Regions from separate parts of the Homo sapiens genome. Here regions 1, 2 and 3 are each linked to region 4. The links are contacts of gene promoters, found by promoter capture Hi-C in human tissues and cell types (Jung and others, 2019). All regions are on one chromosome and are shown on one strand. Each heading gives the region's core, a stretch centred on a gene start or on the middle of the fragment in contact. The rest is flanking DNA. Distances are from core to core; before and after follow the strand shown.

Region 1 (2,700 bases), core at 128-2,627, 350 kb after region 4:
TGCTGAGCAATCCAAGTGATGAGCAATCTGGCTCATTCCCTGAATAGCTTGGGTCAACTGATTTACATTTTAAGAAACCATTGTTTTAAAAAAGAGTAAAACCCACCAGGTGTGGTGCCTCATGCCTGTAATCCCAGCTCTTTGAGAGGCTGAGGTGGGCAGATCACTTGAGGCCAGGTGGCAGATCACTTGAGGCCAGGAGTTCCAGACCAGCCTGGCCAACATGGCAAAACCCCATCTCTACTAAAAATTTGTACAAAAATTACCCAGGCGTGCTGGTGCGCACCTGTATTCCCAGCTACTTGGAAGACTGAGGCACCAGAGTCCCTTGAACCCCTAAGGCGGAGGCTGCAGTGAGCCAAGATTGCACCACTGTACTCTAGCCTGGGTGACAGGGAGAGATGTTGTCTCAAAAAACTGAAACTAAAAAATAAATAAATAAACAGTAAAACCCAGGATTATATGTAATACATATACGTGTACATATATGTACATACATATACGTGTACATATATGTACATACATATACGTGTACATATATGTACATACATATACGTGTGCATATATGTAATACATATACGTGTACATATATGTACATACATATACGTGTGCATATATGTACATACATATACGTGTGCATATATGTACATACATATACGTGTGCATATATGTACATACATATACGTGTACATATATGTACATACATATACATACACATATGAAATACATACAATGTATTATATGTATATATGTATTCTATGTATTTCTAGAATATAATAATCCTAGAAATGTGTAGGGTTTCTATAATCCGTGTTTTCCCAGAGCCTGATTTCTTTTGGGGCCTCCCCTAATTTCCATTAGTCATTTCCAGATGTCAGTTAAGCAGCTGGTTTCCAGCTGGTAGAAAGCACCGCTCATTAGGAACATTCGCAAGACCCCAGGCCTTTGGCTGACAAGTCACAGAGTTTCTGTCGCCCTTGCAGCTGGAAGGACTCTGCTAAATGACAAACTTCCTGACGTTTTCTCTTCTCAGCTTGTACTGTGATAAACTTTCGGGGATCACGTTTCAGTTTTTATACCGTCTCTCATTTTGTGCTGCTAATTTCATGCCTACCCCTCAAAAAAAAAATACATAAAAAGGCCAGGCGCGGTGGCTCACTGCAGCCTTGACCTGCCAGGCTCAAGCGATCCTCCCACCTCAGCCTCCTGAGTAGCTGGAACTGCGGACACATGCCATCACGCCCGGCTAAGTTTTGTATTTTTGGTAGAGACACCATGTTGCCCAGGTGTGGCTCTGTTTAGCCATGGCGGCACTCACTGGCACAATTCTGTTACCTGAGCAAAAACAAAGAAAGGTGAGTTTATTGGTTTTCCAGGGCTGCCATAACAAAACACTACAGACTGGGTGACTTCAACAACAGAAATTTACTCTCATAGTTCTGGAGGCTGGAAGTGTGAGGTCAAGGTATTGGCACGTTTGGTTTTTTCTGAGGCCTCTCTCCTTGGCTTGCGGCTGCCTTTTTGATGCCTGTTCACCTGGTCTTTTCTCTGCGTGCACTGTGCGTGCATCCCTGGCATTTTTGTTTGTTTGTTTGTTTTGTTTTTTGTTTTTTTGAGATAGGGTCTCTCTCTGTCACCTAGGCTGGAGTGCAGTGGCGTGATCTCTGCTCACTGAAGCCTCGACCTCTTGGACTCAAGTGATCCTCCTGCCTCAGCCTCCTGAGTAGCTCGGACTATAGGAGCATATACCACCACGCCTGGCTAATTTTTGTATTTTTTGTAGAGACGGGGATCTCACAATGTTGCTCAGGCTGGTCTTAAACTCGTGAGCTCAAGTGATCTGCCCACCTTGGCCTCCCAAAGTGTTGGGATTATAGGGATGCGCCACCATGATCGGCCCCCTGTCTCCTCTTATAAGGACACCAGTCAGATTGGATTAGGGACCACCCTAATGTCTATTTTAACTTAGTTACCTCTTTAAAGGTCCTATCTCTAAATCAATGCATGAATTTTGGGGGACACAATTCAACCCAGGAACAGCGACACTTTCCTGCTTCTTTTTGTTGTTGCTGATGTTGAGGAGGAGGGAGAAGAAGAGAACATACTCTGGTATTTCAGAGGGATATGAACATTCAGAAACTACATAGAGGTTAGCAATTCGAACCAAGAAGGTAAAATAAGAAGAAAAGTTAAAAGACCTGAAACCACTGGGCCTGATAGAACAGCTAATTTTCTTTTATTGAAATACACAGTGGCAGACTTAAATATGCTCACCATACAGCTTGGATGTGCAGGGAAAATATTTTGTGTTGTCATCTCATTTGTTATTTGCTAGGTAAAGAGAAGAAATAGAGCTAAATGCCCAGTTCAGCTTAAACCTTAGTTCAAATCAACAGTTTAATTGGTCCCTTTGGGTCCTGCTTAGGGTCTCTGGTTTCTGCTGCCTCCTCCCCCATCCCTCATCAGAAGGTGTGTGAACCTATGGCTCATGGCATCATCAAGGGGAAGAAGGCACCTTGGCTTTGTGCAGGTCCTGAACCCTATGGGTTCAGCTGGCGCCCATGACTGGAGCCTTCAGCTGGCATAGCACCTGCCTGGGTTCCCTCTTATTTTCCCCCTGTGTCCTCACCTCGCCCCAACTCCTTCTGGAGCAGTGGCCCCATCAGAGCTCTGCACCCCCTCCCTCTGCCATCCTGGACT
Region 2 (2,700 bases), core at 134-2,633, 410 kb before region 4:
GGACTGAACTGTGTTGTAAAAGTGGCCGAAAACTCCCCAGGTGTAGAGAGTTTCATAGTGGGCATACCTTGGGTTATAAATTGACGTCTTGTCTCTTGAGGCAACCTCCTGGTGGGTGAGAGTTCCGCTCTGGAATTGCTAAGCACATAGTTAGATGAACTTGCTGTAGGGAGTATCTGGTGAAGATGAGGTAAAAGGCTATAATTGCATTACTAAAGAGCTAAGTAGGAAGTGAGGAAACAGAGGAAAGAGATAAGAAGAGAGAGAGAAAAAACCGATTCTGAGAACTATCGGGGTACTTGGTTACATGGGTAACCTAGGGATGTAGTACTCATGGTGGCCCCTGGGTGAGGGCAGTCTTGTGGTACTGAGCCCTTCTACCTGTGGCCTCTGACTCCTTGTGGGTAGTTCGTGTGAGAGTAGCATTGGATGGTAAGATGCCCAATTTGTGTTGGAGGATCAGAGAATCCAAGATAGTCCTTGTAGCATCCTTGAAAGACGGGTACTCTTAGGACCCTCCTGTGCAGTGAGGAAACAGTTAAGTGACTTGCTACACCGCTACAATGGCACACCTGGGGTTCTTTGGATTCTAACTGTCTCTCCCACATGGGTGCCTTGCGGACATCTCAAATGGTCAAATAAAATATAAAATAATCGCTGTTTTTGTGAGGGAAGTGTTAGAGGGTTCATGGCTTTGGGAAGTGGTTTATTGCTGTGATGGTGAATCTCTCTGCAAATGGGGCTAAAGGGAAAATATTCTCACTTAAAGCCCTTTGTAAAATAAAAGCTTAAAAAAAGTGAAATCCAGAATTATTCCCTGAAGATGGACTCTATGTTAATTTTAATATGTACTTAAACACCTGGATTTAGTCTAGCCCTCTAAAAAACAGCCATGTTTAAAAGATCACTTAGGACTATTTCTAAATTAAAAGAATCAACCTCTTAAGTCATAACCTTCTATTGGCTCTTAGAACAACTGGAATTTACCCTTTGTATGTATGTTAAAGCTAGTGTGATGTAGGGTTTTAAGTCCAGAGGATAAACTAGCTGTTTTAGTTATTTAAAGGTTAACATTTAACGAGAAGTGATATTACTTCACTTTTTCAGGCAATCTATATAAGATTTTGTTTTGTTTTGTTTTTCAAAGGGACTTATCACAGAAAGTATCTATTAAACACTTAATTGGGTTTGTGCTGTCTGGTACAAAGGGAAACTATTGTGGTCTCTTAGATAAAAGGGAAATTATGTATCTAGGGATCTCTTCTGAATCAAAGGAGCCGCCTTTTGCATCCTGTGTCAGTGTCTTGAAACTCTGTAGTCCTAGACTACTGATAATTATTTGTGTATATTTTCAAAATCAGTTGTGGATTCAGAGATTGTAATGTGCACACTGCTTACGTTTTATCTCAGTGTACAAGGTGAGTACCCCTCATGTGAAAATCTGAAGTGCTCCAAAATCCAAAACTTTTTAGCTGCCATTGTGATGCCGCAAGAGGGAAATTTCACACCTGACCTCATGTGACGGGTTGTGGTCAAACCAAAGTCAAAACTTTGTTTCATGCACAAAATTATTAAAAATATTGTGTAAAATTTCCTTTAGGCTATGTGTATAAGTTATATATGAAACATGAATTTCATGTTTAGACTTGGGCTCCATCTCCAAGATACTTCCTTATGCAGATATTTCCAAATACAAAATCCGAAACTCTACTGATCCCAAGCATTTTGTTTAAGGTACCCCAGCCTTTATAGATCTTATAGACTTTTCTTTATAATTAATTTCCTTCCATCTATGTTCCTTGTTTTTGAAACGTTAGAGAACATTTATATTTCATGTAGGTTGAATACAAAGCTGTAGAAGTATGTTATTTGAGGTTTTGGAGTATAAAGGTGATCTCAAAATTTTTAGACTTGAATTTCTTTTTCTCTCTCATTTTCTAAAAAATAGAATTAACGTGGAAAATACACATTTGCCTCAGACTCACATGCCCAGAGTATGGAAGGCCTCAGAGAAATCAAAATAAGATTTATGAACATATTGAAGAAAGTGGATTGGTCCAGTGTTCCCTGGGATCTGTTGAATTTAGCTTAAAGTCAAGATGTCCAGGATGCCCATTATCACTGTTGACAAGAATTTTTGACTGACGCTTGTTTATGATCTGAAAGGTGTATATATTTTCTTGAGGAACTATAGGGATAATTTTTCTTTTCCTTAAGAAAGTAATCTTCTTTCTCTGAAAGCTGAAAATCAGCTTATATTATCTTTTACTCCTCCTGCCTCCTGGCCCCAGGTATTCAGTTGATAAACCATGTCACTTCCTTCTTTCTTTGGTCATTCTTGTTGACCTAGTGCAGGGACCCATCAGGTGGATTATTGAAATCCAAACTGGAATCCTCACTTCTAATACACTCACTAATGCTTTAGAATACAGATCCAGGGCTATTCCCCTATTCAAAAATGCGTGATGATTCTCAAATCTCTCAGCAGATATGTGGTCTATCATTACCATACTCTTTCCCCCCAGATCTTTTACCCACCTGTGCTGCTGCTGTTTTAAAATCTGCCGGAATCATCCCTGCCTTGTGGCATTACCCAAGCTGTCCTCTATGTCACATTGCATGTTGCTCCATCTGGGCCCAAACTGCCATTTTCAAAGTCTAGCCTAGGTCTTACCTTATCCTGGAAATTCTTCTAGAGTC
Region 3 (2,700 bases), core at 152-2,651, 370 kb after region 4:
TTGCTTTATATCTGAGTGCTCCAGTTTTGGGTGCATATATATTTGTAATTATTATATCCTCTTGCTGAACTGACCCTTTAATCATTATATAACAAACTTCTTTGTCTCTTTGAATAGTTTTGTCTTGAAATCTATTTTGTCTGGTGTAAGTGTAGACACTCCTGCTCTTTTTGGTTTTCATTTGCATGGAATATCTTTTTCCATTCCTTTATTTTCAGTCTACATGTGTCATTATAGGTGAAGTGTGCTTCTTATAGGCAACACATCGCTGGGTCATGTTTTTGTTTTAATCTCTGCAGCCACTCTATGTCTTTTGATTAAAGAGTTTAGTCCATTTACTGTCAATGTTATTATTGATAAGTAAGGACTTACTCTTGTCATTTTGTTGTTTTCTGGTTGTTTTGTGGTTTCTTTTCTTCCTTCTTTCCATTCTTCCTGTCTACTTTTTGGTGAAGGTGATTTTCTTAAGTGGTATGTTTTAATATATTGGGTTTTTGTTGGTTTTTTTTTCTGTTTGTTTTTGTTTTTGAGACTGAGTCTCACTTTGTTGCTCAGGCTGGAGTGCAGTGGCACAATCTCGGCTCACTGCAACCTCCACCTCCCAGGTTCAAGCAATTCTTGTGCCTCAGCCTCCCAAGTAGCTGGGATTACAGGCACCTACCACCACACCTGGCTAATTTTTGTATTTTTAGTAGAGACAGGGTTTCACCATGTTGGCCAGGCTGGTCTTGAACTTCTGACCTCAAGTGATCCACCTGTCTCAGCCTCCCAAAGTGCTGGAATTACAGGCATGAGCCAACGCTCCAGGCCTATTGTTTTTTATTGTATGTTTTTTGATTTGAGGTTACCAGGAGGCTTGCAAATAAATAATATCTTATAACCCATTATTTTAAACTGATGACAACTTAACACTGATTGCATAAACAAACTAACAAACAAAAACTATTACAAATGTTTTACTCTAACTTTATCCCCCACTTTTTAACTTTTTGTTGCTTCTATTTATATCTTGTTATACTGTCTAATTCTTGAAAAGTTGTTGTAGTTATTATTTTTGACGGGTTCACCTTTCAGTCTTTCTACTCAAGATAGGAGTAGTTTTTACACACTACAGTTACAGGGTTATACGGTTATACTGTGTTTTTCTGTGTACTTACTATTACTAGTGAGTTTTCTACTTTTAGATGATTTCTTATTCTCATTAACATCATCCTTTTCTTTCATATAGAAGAATTCCTTGTAGCATGTCTTGTAGGACAGGTTTGGTGTTGATGAAATTCCTCAGCTTTTGTTTGTCTAGGAAAATCTTTATTTGTCCTTCATGTTTAAAGGATATTTTTTCTGGATATACTATTCTAGGATAAAAGTTTTTGTTTTTGTTTTTTCCTTCAGCACTTTATTTATTTATTTATTTACTTTTTTTTTTTTTTTTTTTGAGACAGAGTCTTGCTCTGTCACCCAGGCTGGAGTGCAGTGGCACGATCTCAGGTCACTGCAATCTCTGCCTCCTGGGTTCAAGTGGTTCTCCTGCCTCAGCCTTCCAAGTATCTGGTATTACAAGTATGCACACCACATCTGGCTAATTTTTGTATTTTTAGTAGAGACGGGGTTTCACCATGTTAGCCAGGCTAGCCTTGAACTCCTGATCTCGAGTGTTCCACCGGCCTCAGCCTCCCAAAGTGCTGGGATTACAGGCGTGAACCACTGCACCTGGCCCTCCTTCAGCACTTTAAATGTGTCATGCCACTCTCTCCTGGCCTGTGAAGCTTCCACTGAGAGTCTACAGCCAGATGTATTGGAGTTCCTTTGTATATTATTATTTATTTTCTCTTGCTGCATTTAGGATCCTTTCTTTATCCTTGACCTTCAGGAATTTGATTATTAAATGCCTTGAGGTAGTCCTCTTGTCGTTAAATCTTCTTGGTGTTCTATAACCTTCTTGTACTTGAATATTGATATATTCCTCTAGGTTTGGGACATTCTGTTTTATTAATTCTTTGAATAAACTTTCTACCCTGATCTCTCTCTCTCTACCTCCTCTTTAAGGCCAATAACCTTAGATTTGCCCCTTTGGACCTATTTTCTAGATCTCGTAAGCACGCTTCATTGTTTTTTATTCTTTTTTCTTTTGTCTCCTCTGACTGTATTTTCAAATAGCCTGTCTTCAGGCTCACTAATTCTTTCTTCTGCTTGATGAATTCTGCTGTTAAGAGACACTGATGCATTCTTCCACATGTCAATTGCATTTTTCAGCTCCAGAATTTCTGCTCGACTCTTTCCAATTATGTTAACCTCTTTGTTAAACTTATCTGATAGGATTCTGAATTTGTTCTCTGTGTTATCTTGGATTTAGTTGAGCTTCCTCAAAACAACTCTTTTGAATTCTCTATCCAAAAGGTCACACATCTCTGTGTCTCCGGGATTAGTCACTGGTGTCTTATTTAGATCATTTGGTAAAGTCATGTTTTCCTGGATGATCTTGATGCTTGTAGATGTTCATTAATGTTTGGGCATTGAAGAGTGAGGTATCTATTGTAGTCTTCACAGTCTGGGCTTATTTCTACCCATCCTTCTTCAGAAGGCTTTCCAGGTATGTGAAGGGTCTTGGGTGTTGTGGTCCAAGTCTTTGGTCACTGCAGCCTTATCTGCTTTAGTGGGCAGTCCACACTCAGTAATGCTATGGCTCTTGCAGACTGGCTG
Region 4 (2,700 bases), core at 126-2,625:
ACAATAAAGCGAGACCCCTAAGTCTACGAGGGAAAAAAAAATACAGGGAGAGGGAAATGATCATTGGAATAAATTGTTTCCTTGTTGAATGTAATGACCGCGCACTACACCGATCTAAGGACAAACACAGTGCACGGGGAAATCTGCAATCCTGGGCTGGAAGAGCTAGTTTCATGGGAACCCTAATTCCTTGACACTTGCAATTAACCAAAGATATGCACATGCCTAAAACCAAAACCTGGTGTGAATGAGGGGAAGGGAGGAGGAGGGCTGCATTCCCCAAATTCTCTCGCTATTATTTTCTTTTAGTGTTGATCTTCCAGACTGGCACAACTCACATTTCAGGGCACTGAAAGCCAGCTCATAAGACAAACGCTGAAAGGACTGATCCTCAGACTCGGACAAGGACCGCAGGGGTTCATTCCCATACTTGATTAAGACTTTCTGTGCCGACTTTTCGATTCGAATACCCTGAAAAATGTTGGCTGCCATGACATAAACGGAGTCCGGATAGCCCGTTTTTTCGGGCACACCAGCTGAGCTTTTCCCACCGGACAGAGGCAGGGAAGTGAGTTGGGAGATGATCTCGGGATCTTCTTCGTTCGAAAACTCCAGTTCGCCCGTGGAATTCAGCATGTCTGCCCCTCGCCTGTCGTGAGTCCTTCACCCTGGGGTTAGAATTCCGATGTTCCAGGAAACGGCTTTCCTCGCATCTGCAGCATGGTCTCTGTGAAGAGAGAAGGTGATTGCAGTAAATCACTCTTTCTGCAGCACCCCTGTGGGTGGCCCCCTTCGTTGTGGCCTTAAAGACTAAGAGGGAGCATTTCCCGTCCCATCTGAGTGTCCCAGACTTCGAGCCTGGGACGCTCAAAAAAAAAAAAAAAAGCGAGGAGGGGTGCAGCGGCGGAGGGAGAAGAGCCCCAAGGAGACCGACGGCTTCCCTCAAGCCAGTCTGGGGGCAGAGCTGCCCCCGGAGCCCCGTCCGCGTCCCCACAGCCCAGTCACCGGCTCCCCCGACTCCTCCCTTACCCCGAGGGCGGATGGTTCCCGGGGCTTCGGGGACGAAGACGCGGAGGGCGGCGTCGGTCACAGGCCCTTGGGAGCCCCGGGACTGCGGGGCGACGGCTGCTGCCCGCGAAGGCCGTTTGGTTCAAATGCAGCCACTCCCACCGGCAGGATTCGGGGCAGGGGGGTCGCAGCCTCTGGCGCCCGGTTCGCTCCGGTGTCGTGAAGTGGTGGGCGCCTCGGGGCCTCGCCTGGCCTCGCGCGTGAGGCCTTCGCGGACGTGGCGGCGAAGAGGGGTGAGCGCGGTGCCCGGGGTCTGGCTGGCTCAGGCCGAGGAAAGCTCAGCCTCCCGAGTCTCCGGCAGTCGACTGCTCCCGGACCGGGTCTTCATGGCAACCGCGAGCGGAGGTGGGGCAGGGGGCGCGGCGCGAGGGCCGTTCCCGCGGGATTTGGCGGGTGCTACCTGTTGCCGGGAGAGTCGCTCTTCCCCCAGCGCGCGGAGACACCTGTTTCAGCCCCTCCGAGCCAGAGGCCTCTTGCACAGTTCCTGGACCTCACCGGGCCTGAGTGCGTGCCCTTGGCTTTGTTTATAAACATTTGGGGATATTTTTGAGGTAGTCTGACGTAGTTCCGTGGTTTTAACTCACAAGTTCCTGAAGTCCCTGTTAAAACTACACATTCTTTAAAATATTTTTAAAATATAGTAATAATTTTTTTTTTGAGACATGGTCTCGCTCTGTCGCCCAGGCTGGAGTGCAGTGGCGCAATCTCGGTTCACTGCAGCCTCCTCCTCCCGGGTTCACGTGATTCTCATGCCTCAGCCTCCCGAGTAGCTGGGACTACAGGCGCCCGCCACCACACCCTGCTAATTTTTGTATTTTTAGTAGAGACAGGGTTTCACCGTGTTGATCAAGTTAGTCTCGAACTCCTGACGTCAAGTGATCTGCCGGCCTTGGCCTCCCAACGTGCTGGGATTACATGCGTGAGCCACTGCGCCGTCTGTAATAATTTTTTTTAATAACAGAGACAGGGTTCCCATTATGTTGCCCAGGGTGGTCTCGAATTCCTGGGCTCAAGGAGTCCTCCCTCCTCGGCCTCCCAAAGTGCTGGGATTTCAGGCGTGAACCACCGCCTCCAGCTAAAAAAAAATCCTTGGAACCCATCCTAGAGATTTGAGTTGCTAAGACCCAGTAATTTGCATTTTTATCAGGTAACTGGCGATTCTGATGCAATCAGCCCAAAGACCACAGTTTGAAAAACTCTGGTATAGTTGAAAGACAACTGGTCCTAATTCCACCTCTGCCTTTCCTCCTTAGGGATTTGCCCTTCCTTCTTTAGGCTAAGGCCATTTCCATTTCCAGCCAGTGGTTAGTAGGATGAAGGGGAAAGAGAGGGCAGCCCATATTTTTCAATGACCTGAAAGGTGCACATATCACTTTGGCTCACATTTTATTGGTCAGAACTCAGTCATATACCCAGCAACCAAGAGGCTGGTAAATGTGTCCAGCTAAAAATAAGGGAACTATTACTGTAGAAGAAGGAGAGAATGGATAATGGGGAAAAAATTAGCAGTACAGAACTCTAACCCTGACCCCTTCTCTCAGAAATCCACCCACTTTCATTATCCCCGGAATACGTTAAACATTCCGTAACATTTTATGTATACATGCATTCATTCGTTCGTTTAACAAGTAT

What was found. Contacts are between HindIII fragments. The study calls those that stand out against the background at their distance.
Region 1: a fragment that was not itself captured here is called in contact with the fragment with the promoter of NSUN7 in region 4 in 1 of the 25 tissues and cell types used here (lymphoblastoid cells).
Region 2: a contact is called between a fragment that was not itself captured here and the fragment with the promoter of NSUN7 in region 4, in 1 of the 25 tissues and cell types used here (dorsolateral prefrontal cortex).
Region 3: a contact is called between a fragment that was not itself captured here and the fragment with the promoter of NSUN7 in region 4, in 1 of the 25 tissues and cell types used here (mesenchymal stem cells).

What each region holds. Positions count from the first base shown.
Region 1 is chr4:40,400,072-40,402,771 of GRCh38, reverse strand. No RefSeq gene overlaps it. Among named protein-coding and RNA genes, the nearest start is that of RBM47-AS1, 25 kb to the left of the region's middle. The HindIII fragment of the contact is 5,760 bases long and covers 1-2,700 here.
Region 2 is chr4:41,163,049-41,165,748 of GRCh38, reverse strand. The region is part of intron 1 of APBB2 (amyloid beta precursor protein binding family B member 2); the gene reads left to right. Among named protein-coding and RNA genes, the nearest start is that of APBB2, 50 kb to the left of the region's middle. The HindIII fragment of the contact is 4,001 bases long and covers 1-2,700 here.
Region 3 is chr4:40,381,059-40,383,758 of GRCh38, reverse strand. No RefSeq gene overlaps it. Among named protein-coding and RNA genes, the nearest start is that of RBM47-AS1, 44 kb to the left of the region's middle. The HindIII fragment of the contact is 5,805 bases long and covers 1-2,700 here.
Region 4 is chr4:40,748,630-40,751,329 of GRCh38, reverse strand. NSUN7 (NOP2/Sun RNA methyltransferase family member 7) reads right to left here and starts at 1,375. Exons shown (of 12, transcript NM_024677.6): 1 at 1,030-1,375; 2 at 339-727. The coding sequence starts at 636. The HindIII fragment of the contact is 15,367 bases long and covers 1-2,700 here.